Linked DNA regions of Homo sapiens: region 2 is linked to region 1. Evidence: promoter capture Hi-C in 16 types of primary human blood cells and fetal thymus (Javierre and others, 2016). All regions are on one chromosome and are shown on one strand. The core of a region is centred on a gene start or on the middle of the fragment in contact, and the rest is flanking DNA. Distances in the headings are between cores, read along the strand shown.

Region 1 (5,673 bases), core at 2,052-4,551:
AAAAAAAAAAAATTTCTGGTCTACCTTTTTGCCCACCTTTTAACCACAGAGGTCCCCAAACATGAATTTTCACTCTCAGGAAGGCTGAAATGACACATTACAAGCGGTTTAGTCATCTGCACGTGCCGCCATCTGATTTAAGGCATCTATTCCTCCTCACCATTCCTGACAAAGTTGAACTGTCTACATGTGCCACATTCTCCTCTTTCTCTAATTCCTTCCCTCCTTCCCTCCTCCCTTTCTTCCCTCCCTCCCTCCTTCCTTCTTCTTTCTCTTTCTTTTTCTTTCTCTCTTTCTCTTTCTTTCTCTTTCTCTCTCACTCTCTTTTCTTCTTTCTGACAGGGTTTGCCTGTTCTGCTTCTTTAAACCCTGGGGTTCAAGTGCAAAGGTCCCTCTCATCTGATTTCCCTATTTTATTTTATTTAAGTTAGATACTCCACGATGATGATGATGATTATTGTTGAGACAGGATTTCATTCTGTTGCCCAGGCTGGAGTGCAATGGTGCGATCACAACTCACTGCAGCCTCAACCTCCTGGGCCCACGCGATCCTCCTACCTCAGCCTCCCAAGTAGCTTGGACTACAGGGGTGTACCACCATGCCCGGCTAATTACATGTGCCAGATTCAACCCACGTTCCAGGGTTCCAAACAACCAAGGCTCTATCATCCTGTCTTAACAAATATACCTTCATAAAGACCTGGAAGGCAGGTTGAAATGTGGAATTCTTGGACTTCTTTCAGTTCTACGTAGAAGGGTAGCAGTGGAGAGCTGGCTGCCTGCCCGCCCCTGGCCTTTCCTCCTTTCCCCACCCCTGCTCCTTGTGGCACTGGGCAGGGCCTACGTTCAAGGCTAGCAGTGTACTCAACAAGGGACAGTCCCTGTGTGGCCTGTTCAGGATCCTATACACAGGCTCAGGGCTCTTTGGGCAGGAAATTCCAGGATCCGGGTACTCAAGTGGTGTTCTAAACAGTGGTTCTTGGCCGGGTGTGGTGGCTCACACCTGTAATCCCAGCACTTTGGGAGGCCGAGGCTGGCAGATCACTTGAGGTCAGGAGTTCGAGACCAGCCTGGCCAACATGGTGAAACCCCATCTCTACTAAAAATACAAAAACTTAGCCAGGCATGGTGTGCACGCCTGTAGTCCCAGCTACTCGGGAGGCTGAGGCAGGAGAATCACTTGAACCCAGCAGGCGGAGGTTGCAGTGAGCTGAGATTGCACCACTGCACTCCAGCCTGGTGACAGAGTGAGACTCCATATCAAAATAAATACATAAATAAATAAAAACAGTGATTCTTAACTGGGAGTGATTTGGCAACGTCTGGAATTATTTTTGGTTATCCCAGCCTGGCAGGGAGGGACAGGGTATTACTGGCATCTAGTGAGTAGGGGCTAGGGATTCTACTGAACATCCTACAGTGTACAGGACAGCCTCCACAGCAAAGAACTGTCTGGCCCAAAATGTCCATAGTGCCCACATTCGATGCCCTGCATTAGGAAGATATAAATACTCTTAAATATCACAGAGTTAAATTCCTTACCCCTGTTCTAGCAGAGATGATATTCTTGCGGGGGGAGCATCTTCTTGGCTTCAACACATTCTTTTCTCCATGGGAGATGATGCCAGAAGAGGGACAGAACAGGGCCCAGTAAAGCATGGGGCCTGGGGCCAGGGACCCCCTTGTTCAGGTGTGACGACCATCCTACGAAGGCACCACCCAGGCATCATTAGACCGTCTCAAAAGAAGAGTAATTCACTGTCCCAAAGCAGCTCTCTCGTGTCTGTGGGCGGATCCCTTGGCAAGTTTACAATGAACTGAAATCTGCCGAACTTCCTGGAACCCAAAGAAACTTTAGCCTTGGGCAAAGGCCCTTTGGCCAGCATTTGCACTGTTTATGCAACCGTTTAGAATATACGAATTATCTGGAGACTACTACCAAATACAACAGGCAAAACTGCAAATATGTATACTTCCTAGAGGATGATAAAAAAATGTGAATTGTATTTCTCTGATAGAGGATGCATTAGAGTCTGAGGGTCTAAATAGCGTAAATAATAAATAAGTAAATAAATCGATAGTAGTGTACTCCAAACGAGGCTGGAATAGCTTCTATTGTTGTTTCACACTGGACTTCAATTAAGTCTCAGTATTTTGCCATACTCAATATTAAGTACTAGGCTGGACGTGGTGGCTCATGTCTGTAATCCCAGCACTTTGGGAGGCCGAGGTGGGTAGATGGCTGGCTTGAGCTCAGGAGTTTGAAACCAGCCTGGGCAACATGGTAAAACCCCATCTGTACCCAAAATACAAAAATCAGCCAGGTGTGGTGGCACATGCCTGTGGTCCCAGGTACTTGGGAGGCTGAGGCAGGAGGATGGCTTGAACCCAGGAGGTGGAGGCTGCAGTGAGCTATGATGGCGCCACTGCACTCCAGCCTGGGTGACAGAGCGAGACCCTGTCTCAAAAATCAAACAAACAACCCCCTCGCCCCGGACAAAAGTAGTTTGCACTATTTTCTCATTTCACAATATGTTTTTGAAATATTTCCCTTGAAAGGTAAGTCATATTTATCATTCCTGTTGTATGGAGGCATCATAAATTATTTCACCATTCTACCCTCCTTGAGTGTTGTGGCCTTTAGGCCAGACAAAAACGCAGGTGATGCCTAGAAGCCAACTAGTTGCCGTTTGGTTATCTGTAGGGTTGTGGCCTTGCCAAACAGGAAAAATATAAAAAGAATACCGAATTCTGCCAACCAAATAAGAAACTCTATACTAAGGACTAAGAAAATTGCAGGGGAAGAAAAGGTAAGTCCCGGGATTGAGGTGTAGCGACTTTCTATACCCTCAGAAAACTAAAAAACAAGACAAAAAAATGAAAACTACAAAAGCATCCATCTTGGGGCGTCCCAATTGCTGAGTAACAAATGAGACGCTGTGGCCAAACTCAGTCATAACTAATGACATTTCTAGACAAAGTGACTTCAGATTTTCAAAGCGTACCCTGTTTACATCATTTTGCCAATTTCGCGTACTGCAACCGGCGGGCCACGCCCCCGTGAAAAGAAGGTTGTTTTCTCCACATTTCGGGGTTCTGGACGTTTCCCGGCTGCGGGGCGGGGGGAGTCTCCGGCGCACGCGGCCCCTTGGCCCCGCCCCCAGTCATTCCCGGCCACTCGCGACCCGAGGCTGCCGCAGGGGGCGGGCTGAGCGCGTGCGAGGCGATTGGTTTGGGGCCAGAGTGGGCGAGGCGCGGAGGTCTGGCCTATAAAGTAGTCGCGGAGACGGGGTGCTGGTTTGCGTCGTAGTCTCCTGCAGCGTCTGGGGTTTCCGTTGCAGTCCTCGGAACCAGGACCTCGGCGTGGCCTAGCGAGTTATGGCGACGAAGGCCGTGTGCGTGCTGAAGGGCGACGGCCCAGTGCAGGGCATCATCAATTTCGAGCAGAAGGCAAGGGCTGGGACGGAGGCTTGTTTGCGAGGCCGCTCCCACCCGCTCGTCCCCCCGCGCACCTTTGCTAGGAGCGGGTCGCCCGCCAGGCCTCGGGGCCGCCCTGGTCCAGCGCCCGGTCCCGGCCCGTGCCGCCCGGTCGGTGCCTTCGCCCCCAGCGGTGCGGTGCCCAAGTGCTGAGTCACCGGGCGGGCCCGGGCGCGGGGCGTGGGACCGAGGCCGCCGCGGGGCTGGGCCTGCGCGTGGCGGGAGCGCGGGGAGGGATTGCCGCGGGCCGGGGAGGGGCGGGGGCGGGCGTGCTGCCCTCTGTGGTCCTTGGGCCGCCGCCGCGGGTCTGTCGTGGTGCCTGGAGCGGCTGTGCTCGTCCCTTGCTTGGCCGTGTTCTCGTTCCTGAGGGTCCCGCGGACACCGAGTGGCGCAGTGCCAGGCCCAGCCCGGGGATGGCGACTGCGCCTGGGCCCGCCTGGTGTCTTCGCATCCCTCTCCGCTTTCCGGCTTCAGCGCTCTAGGTCAGGGAGTCTTCGCTTTTGTACAGCTCTAAGGCTAGGAATGGTTTTTATATTTTTAAAAGGCTTTGGAAAACAAAAATACGCAACAGAGACCGTTTGTGTGACACTTTGCAGGGAAGTTTGCTGGCCTCTGTTCTAGGTCATGATTGGGCTGCAAGGGCAGAGAAGGTAGCCTTGAACAGAGGTCCTTTTCCTCCTCCTAAGCTCCGGGAGCCAGAGGTTTAACTGACCCTTTTGGGGATTTTTGAGGGCAGTGATCTTAACTTTGGGTGCACAGTTAGCTTATTTGAAGATCTTACTAAAAATACACCAGAGCCCAACCTCCGACCAATTACATCAAAACCTGTCCTAGTGCAGGGTGAGTATTGCTGTTTTTTGAAAGTTTCCAAAAGTGATTTTGATGTGCACCTACGATTGAGAACTGTCGTTTGAGGACAGTGGGTGGAGTTTCGTATTTGGAAATTAGAAGACCTGGAGTTTCCATTACACCGAATTGGCACTTAATAACTGTTGTCGGAGCATTTCTTAAGCCACATTTTCGTAAAGTGGCTTTAAAATTGCTCTGCCAGTAGGCAGGTTGCTAAGATGGTCAGAGACAAACTTCTGAACGACTCTTGTAAAATATACAGAAATATTTTCAGAACTTTTATCAGTAAAATTACAAAACGTGTTGCAAGGAAGGTGCTTGTGATAACACTGTCCCCAGAACCTTAGTGAAGTTACCAACTGGTGGAAAATTTTCTCTTGCACTCGGCTTAAAAATCATGAGGGAATATTTACTATACGAATGAGATTCAGTCTTTAAAGGGGTTTACAGAAACGTGAGAGGACAGGAACAGTTAGTCTGTGTAAATGTCTGAAATATATGTGAGGGAGATAATGAGTTTAGCCTTTTTCTTTAATAGGTCTCCAGATTTTCTGGAAAAGGTTCTTTGGCATTTGACTCCATTTTGCTGTTTCATTTGTCAGACTTCTTTTTGTCCCTCTTTACTTCTCCCCACATAATTCACCAGTACTAGTGTTTTGTTTTTCAGACCAAGTCTCGCTCTGTCGCCCAGGCTGGAGTGCAGTGGCGCGATCTCAGCTCACTGCAACCTCCGCCTCCCAGGTTCAAGCAATTCTCCTGCCTCAGCCTCCCGGGTAGCTGGGACTACAGGCGCGCGCCGCCACGCCTGGCTAATTTTTTATATTTTAGTAGAGACGGCGTTTCACCATGTTGGCCAGGATGGTCTCGATCTGTTGACGTCGTGATCCACCCGCCTCGGCCTCCCAAAGTGCTGGGATTACAGGCGTGAGCCACCCCGCCCGGCCACCAGTGCTATTCTTAAGACGCCTCTGAGGAATCCCTTCTCCCTGGCCATTGAGAATCCATGCATGAACCCAGGTTTTCCACCTTCCCTGAGCAGCTTGCATAGTTCCTTCTTTTAAGCGCCTGACTTCGTTTTGTTTGGTGCCCGTTGTACCTGAGAATGAGCCTTGGATAGTGGAGCATTCCAGCTTTCCAGATATGCAGAGATAATACATTGGCTATCAGCTACTTGGCTTGGCCTATTCCGTGTTTAAAATCTTGGACTCTTTGCTAGTTTTTACAGATCAGAATTTTTCACGTATTAATCCAGTTTTCCTAGCTTCTCTTGAAGAATTTTTGGAGATCTCTTCATACTGAGCCTTCATTAGCCCAGGACAGTACTGCTGTAGCAGTTCATATATTTTT
Region 2 (5,673 bases), core at 1,688-4,187, 2.6 Mb before region 1:
TGATTCCAGGAATTATTATTTGTCTCCCCCTTTTTAGTTGTCATTTTGTCATTTTTCATCTCTGATTTTTGGGTCACAGGTGTTACGTATGTGATAATGAGGTCCAGTATTGTAGTTCAAACCAGTTGGGTCAAGTGGTTGATTATGTCAGAAAACAAGCCAGCATTACAACTCCAAAGCCAGGTAAAATAATTTGTTTCTTTAATATACACCAAATGTCGATTTGTGTATCTGCTGATACTTAGATTTGTTATACTACCTAGCATTACATACAGCTGAGTAACATTAGTTATGGTTGATTGCAAACTATGAAACTATTTTTGGTTTAACTATAAGGTATTAGAAGGGATATGAGAAATGATCTAGTCAGATGTGATGAAGGCCATAGACTAAGGTAATGGCCATTAATGCTAAGACTAAGGTAATTCCCATAACCCTAGCCAGGCTTACTATAGACCTGCCTTACACTGTTCTTACTGTCGTACATTTTGTAATAGCAAGATTTCAGTCTGTCTGCTGGGATAACATAAAGCATTTGTGATTCCTTCTAATGGTCAGATATTTCTTAGGTTCTTTCCATGCATAATTAAATTAATTGGCTGACATACAGCATTTGCTTTAAGCATGTTTTTTAAGTTTTTATTGTCACAAGTATCTTTGTCAGAGCCAGAATTATTTGTTTTTTACTTTAGGATTGATTTTTGACCCACAGAATTCATTAAAAAATTTATTTCATGTCCATGTTCTTGATTGTTTTATATTCTTAATTTCACAAGGTAAGATGTGTTCATTTGTAAAGAATTTTCGTGCAGTAAAAAAGGGAGATTTATACCAAAGCACATACTGTTTGGTTTCATTTATCAAACTAATGCTTACTTTAGGTCTGAGTATTTTTTGTTTACTGGGTTTTGTGTTTTTTTTCTGGATGGCAATTTACCTGTATCTATTTAAAATCAAATGGGTGGGTGGGTTGGAAAGAATGACTTCAGGTAAACTCACAAACTCTAGTACTGTTTCCCAAGTATACTTCTGCATTCGATATGACTGTATTACACATTTTGCTAAATCTTTTCTTTTTTTAAAGCAGAGAAAGATAATGGAAATATTGAACTTGAAAATAAAAAATTAGAAAAAGAGAGTAAGAATGAACAAGAGAGAGAAAAGAAGGAAAACATGGCTAAAGAGAATCCTCCCATGAATTCTCCTTGCCAAATAACCGTGAAAGGACTCAGTAATTTGGGAAACACATGTTTCTTCAATGCAGTTATGCAGGTACATTGTCATTTTTTTCCCTTTAAAAAAGCTGTCCTTTTCCTCATAGAATCTGCTACTTACATTATTGAGTTTTTTCCACCTGAGTAATTTATTTCTATGTATCCAAAGAAAACTTTTTTTTTTTTTTTTTTTTTTTTTGAGACAGGGTCTCACTCTGTCACTCGGCTGGAGTGCAGTGGCACGATCGTGGCTCACTGCAGCCTCTACCTCTTGGGCTCAAGCAGTCCTCCTACCTTAGCCTCCAGAGTAGCTGGGACTACAGGCATGCGCCACCACTCCCAGCTAGTTTTTGTATCTTTTGTAGAGACAGGGTTTCGCCATGTTGCCTAGGCTAGTCTTGAACTCCTGGGCTTAAGCCGTCCACCCCCTTTGGCCACCCAAAGTGTTTGGATTACAGGCGTGAGCCACCATGCCTGGCCAAAGAAAACTTAAGGAAAGTTTTATTGCATGACAGTAAGAGAGTTTGGTGAGCACTCGGGTGCAGTGGGTTTGAAAGAAATATTGCTGCTTCTTTCATGGAGCTTGCACTTGGGTGGAGGAAACACAGGATAACCTCATATAGAAGCAAATACGTACCTACAGGTAGTGGTAAGTGGTTGTGAGAGAGTCATGGTGGAGGATTGGGGATAGCTACTTCTGATTGGGTGGTGGGAGAATGCCCCACTGAGGTGATGAATAAGCTCAGAACTGAAGTAGTTATGACCCAAATAGAGTAGGGAGAGAAGCATCTGTAACTTTTCATTTTCCAAGTATAGAGTTTTCAGTGTTGGTCATGATTTTCTGTTTTGATAGAATAGACACTTAAGAAGTGTCAGAGTTGATTTGCCTTTAAATAATTTTTCTCTTTTTTTTTCACCCTACATTCTAGAACTTGTCACAAACACCAGTGCTTAGAGAACTACTAAAAGAAGTGAAAATGTCTGGAACAATTGTAAAAATTGAACCACCTGATTTGGCATTAACAGTATGTTCTTTAAACTTTTCTAGTCTGTAACTTTCCTCTCTGAATGTGTGTTTTCTAAATTATTTTAAATAACTGACACTCATTTCCACTGTTTTTGTTTGTTTTGTTTTACTTTAGGCTACTAACTTAAACAGTTTCAGGCTAATAGAAGTTATAAGGAGGCATTACATCTGTTTGCTGTGTGTGTGCTCTGTTTTTCTATGCTCGAGTGTTAAGCTTCCTTCTTGGGAATGTGTATATGTTTGAGAAGCCTTAGGCTTACATTATTATTTTTAACATCTTTAAGGTGACTTAAGAGCTGTGTAACCAAATAAATATTACCTTATCCATTTTTATTATTTACATTTTGCTTTGGCTCTTTCAATTCTTAGGTAGTAAGTGTTCCAGATAATCTAAAACTAAAATAGTAGAGCTGAATTCTGCATAAGACAGTCTGTGACCAAACAGTTTCTATCTCTTTTGATGTACATTTTAAACTTTTAAATGGGGCAGTTCTGTCAGGAACATTGGTAGTATATGTTAACTAATTAGATTTTAGTAAAGTCAGTGATTCCAGAATTTGACTGAAGAAAGTAATTTCTTTTCCCATATTCAGGAACCATTAGAAATAAACCTTGAGCCTCCAGGCCCTCTTACTTTAGCCATGAGCCAGTTTCTTAATGAGATGCAAGAGACCAAAAAGGGGGTTGTGACACCGAAAGAACTCTTTTCTCAGGTCTGTAAAAAGTGAGTATCCACTTCGATTGTGCTTTCAGTGCCTCAGTGAGATGCTGAGAAATAATATTAATATTAAATAGTAAAATATAAAAATATTAATAGCATTACATTTAGTCAACCCTCTATATACAAAAGGCATAGTTTTTTTTCATTTGGATTTTAAAATATATTTTATGTGATAGTTAAATCTCCCAAGGGTGTTAATGGACTAAACGGAAATTTGTAGAAACCAGAACTCTCTGAGATTTGGGATATGATCCTAAGATTTTCTAAAAATAGCTTCAGAGCTTAGTAGACTGAAGATTGCTTTTCTGTCTTTTTGTTTTTCTCTAGAGCAGTGCGGTTTAAAGGCTATCAGCAGCAAGACAGCCAGGAGCTGCTTCGCTACTTATTGGATGGGATGAGAGCAGAAGAACACCAAGTTAGCATGTTATGACCATTGTATTTTATGATCTTATCTTCATAAGCTTTCTGTCTCATTTGATATCTTACGAGTTAAAACAATGAAAGCTAGTTATTAAGGCCATCATACTTTAAAATTTTTTCTTACACCAGCTTTTTCAACTAGTATGTTTTCACCATTAGAATGAATCCAGAGAATTAGCAGTAATTCTCTTTCTCATGATGGCTTAAGTTTAGTTGATGTTTACAGCATTAATGTTCTTTAAAGATTCTGTTGTACTAACCTATACGAAGAGAGCTGCCAAATATTGGAAATTGTTTCTCCCAAACCCAGGTGCAGCACACCCTTACTTTTAATTCTGAGTCTGATTTAATACTGTTTTTTGAACCTAGGAAGTATTTTCATTTTGTAAGAGTCAGGGAACATTGGTTGCATTTTAAAATTTTTGTTACTTGCCAGGATATAAAAAAATGTATTTGGGGTATGAATTAATGAGTACTAATAATAGTGATAATAACTAATATTTATTTCGCACTTATTTTTATGCCAATCACTGTTTTCAGTGTTTTGTATTAATTCCCTTACTTCGTTCTCACAAAGTTTCTGTGAGGTGGATACTGTGATTTTTTCCTATTCCATAGATTGAGAATCTAGGCTGTAGAGAAGTTCAGTACCTAGTTTAAGGTCCCCCAGAAATAATGGAGCTGGGCTTTAAGCACTGGAGTCAGACCCTGTGGCTGTCATGTAATCATTGTGCTTGTAGGACAAGCTATTTCAGTTTCTTCTCAAAGGTGGTGGGCATGTTCTGAAAACCTTTGGCTTGAAGAGGTTTAAGATCTTGAAATGATAAGATAATACCTTTATTCAATGGTTAGTGATTGCTTTGTGACATAATTCCTTTTTAGCTCCTTGAATTAAGTTTGAAAATGTGATTTTGGAATTATTTAGTAAATATGGGGAGCTGTATCCTGATCACTTTCTTGACTTGATTACATATTTCTAAGGAAAATAAAATTTAAAATTTAATAGTATATATATATCCATTTTATTACTTTTAGAGAGTGAGTAAAGGAATACTTAAAGCATTTGGTAATTCTACTGAAAAGTTGGATGAAGAACTAAAAAATAAAGTTAAAGGTAATGTCTGACTTTTTGAACTAAAACACTATAGTTGAATTCCTCTGTACCTTAGGACAAGATTGCTGGCACATATATTTCCAAGTCCACAATTATTAATGTATAATTTCTCTTTATCAACGTTGATTAGTAAAAATTATTCAGTGCTCCAGAAGTGAACAGTTTTACCCCATGGTGTATTCTTTTTATGTATTAAAGATAGAACTATGATGAATTACAGTTTTACTTTTCAAAAGCTTAAAATTATAATTAGCAGTAATACATGAATTATATTTGTTACTGTGAGTTGTCAGTAGTTGGTTTATTAATCATGGAGCCAACTTAGTTCTTATTATGTGGCGTGTAAAGATTTAGGGCAGATCTGCCCAGTAGAACTTCCTATGTTGATGGAACTCCTCTATACCTTTGCTGTTCCATATAGAAGCAACTAGGCACGTGTGGCGCCTGAAATGTGACTGGTGAAACTGAGGAACTACATTTTTATTTTTATTTAATTGTAATTAAATTTAAATAGCCGTAAGTGACTAAGGGCACTGTATTATAAAGCACAGATTTGAATCAACTCATAGCAACTCTTTGCCTCCTTGGTGCCCTTTAGAGCCTGGCCAGTAATGGAGAGAATTACCCCTGCTGGCATTTTCTGTCAGAAAAGTGTGGTTCTGCATAAATTATCATTTGAATAATGCTTATAGGTTTCACGTATTTGGAAAATTGGCTGATCAAGTAGTAAAATTATGGCTTTTAGTTATATTAAACTTATCAAGATTATTTCTGGGAGCATAGGAAAATAAAAGGAAGATTTTGTTTGAAATATTTTCCTGAGGTTTTTCTTTTGTTTTTAAAATATCAAAGGAGTTCAGTCTTAGAGTTCACAAAACAAGTTACATGCATTTTCTCTCCCAGTTTGCTACTCTGGTATCTTTTATCAGTCTTGAATGTTAGAATGTTAGAGCTAGAACTAAGGAACTAGGCTGTCATTCAGCCTACTCTGAGCTGTTCATTTTATACTAATGGAGAGAGAGAGAAAGACATAGAAGTCTCACTGACTTGCACAGTTTACTTCCCACTGACTAGATCTTGGATAAGGACTTTTTTGTCTTATTCATAAAAGGCGATTGTGTTCAATTATGTTATGCTCAGAGGTGGAATATATAATACTGACTTCTATTGCTTAAAA

What was found. The method cuts DNA at HindIII sites, captures the fragments that hold promoters and counts their contacts. A CHiCAGO score of 5 or more calls a contact.
Region 2: a contact is called between a fragment that was not itself captured here and the fragment with the promoter of SOD1 in region 1, in 1 of 17 cell types (erythroblasts). The highest score is 6.5, in erythroblasts.

What each region holds. Positions count from the first base shown.
Region 1 is chr21:31,656,392-31,662,064 of GRCh38, forward strand. SOD1 (superoxide dismutase 1) reads left to right here and starts at 3,302. Exons shown (of 5, transcript NM_000454.5): 1 at 3,302-3,450. The coding sequence starts at 3,379. SOD1-DT (SOD1 divergent transcript) reads right to left here and starts at 3,633. Exons shown (of 3, transcript NR_187558.1): 1 at 3,006-3,633; 2 at 1,543-1,704. RefSeq lists silencers at 2,915-3,234, 3,505-3,784 and enhancers at 3,945-4,144, 4,644-5,153, 5,154-5,662. The HindIII fragment of the contact is 11,893 bases long and covers 1-5,673 here.
Region 2 is chr21:29,036,192-29,041,864 of GRCh38, forward strand. USP16 (ubiquitin specific peptidase 16) reads left to right here. Exons shown (of 18, transcript NM_006447.3): 5 at 80-183; 6 at 1,085-1,272; 7 at 2,144-2,239; 8 at 2,835-2,965; 9 at 3,290-3,377; 10 at 4,418-4,496. Among named protein-coding and RNA genes, the nearest start is that of USP16, 14 kb to the left of the region's middle. The HindIII fragment of the contact is 968 bases long and covers 2,454-3,421 here.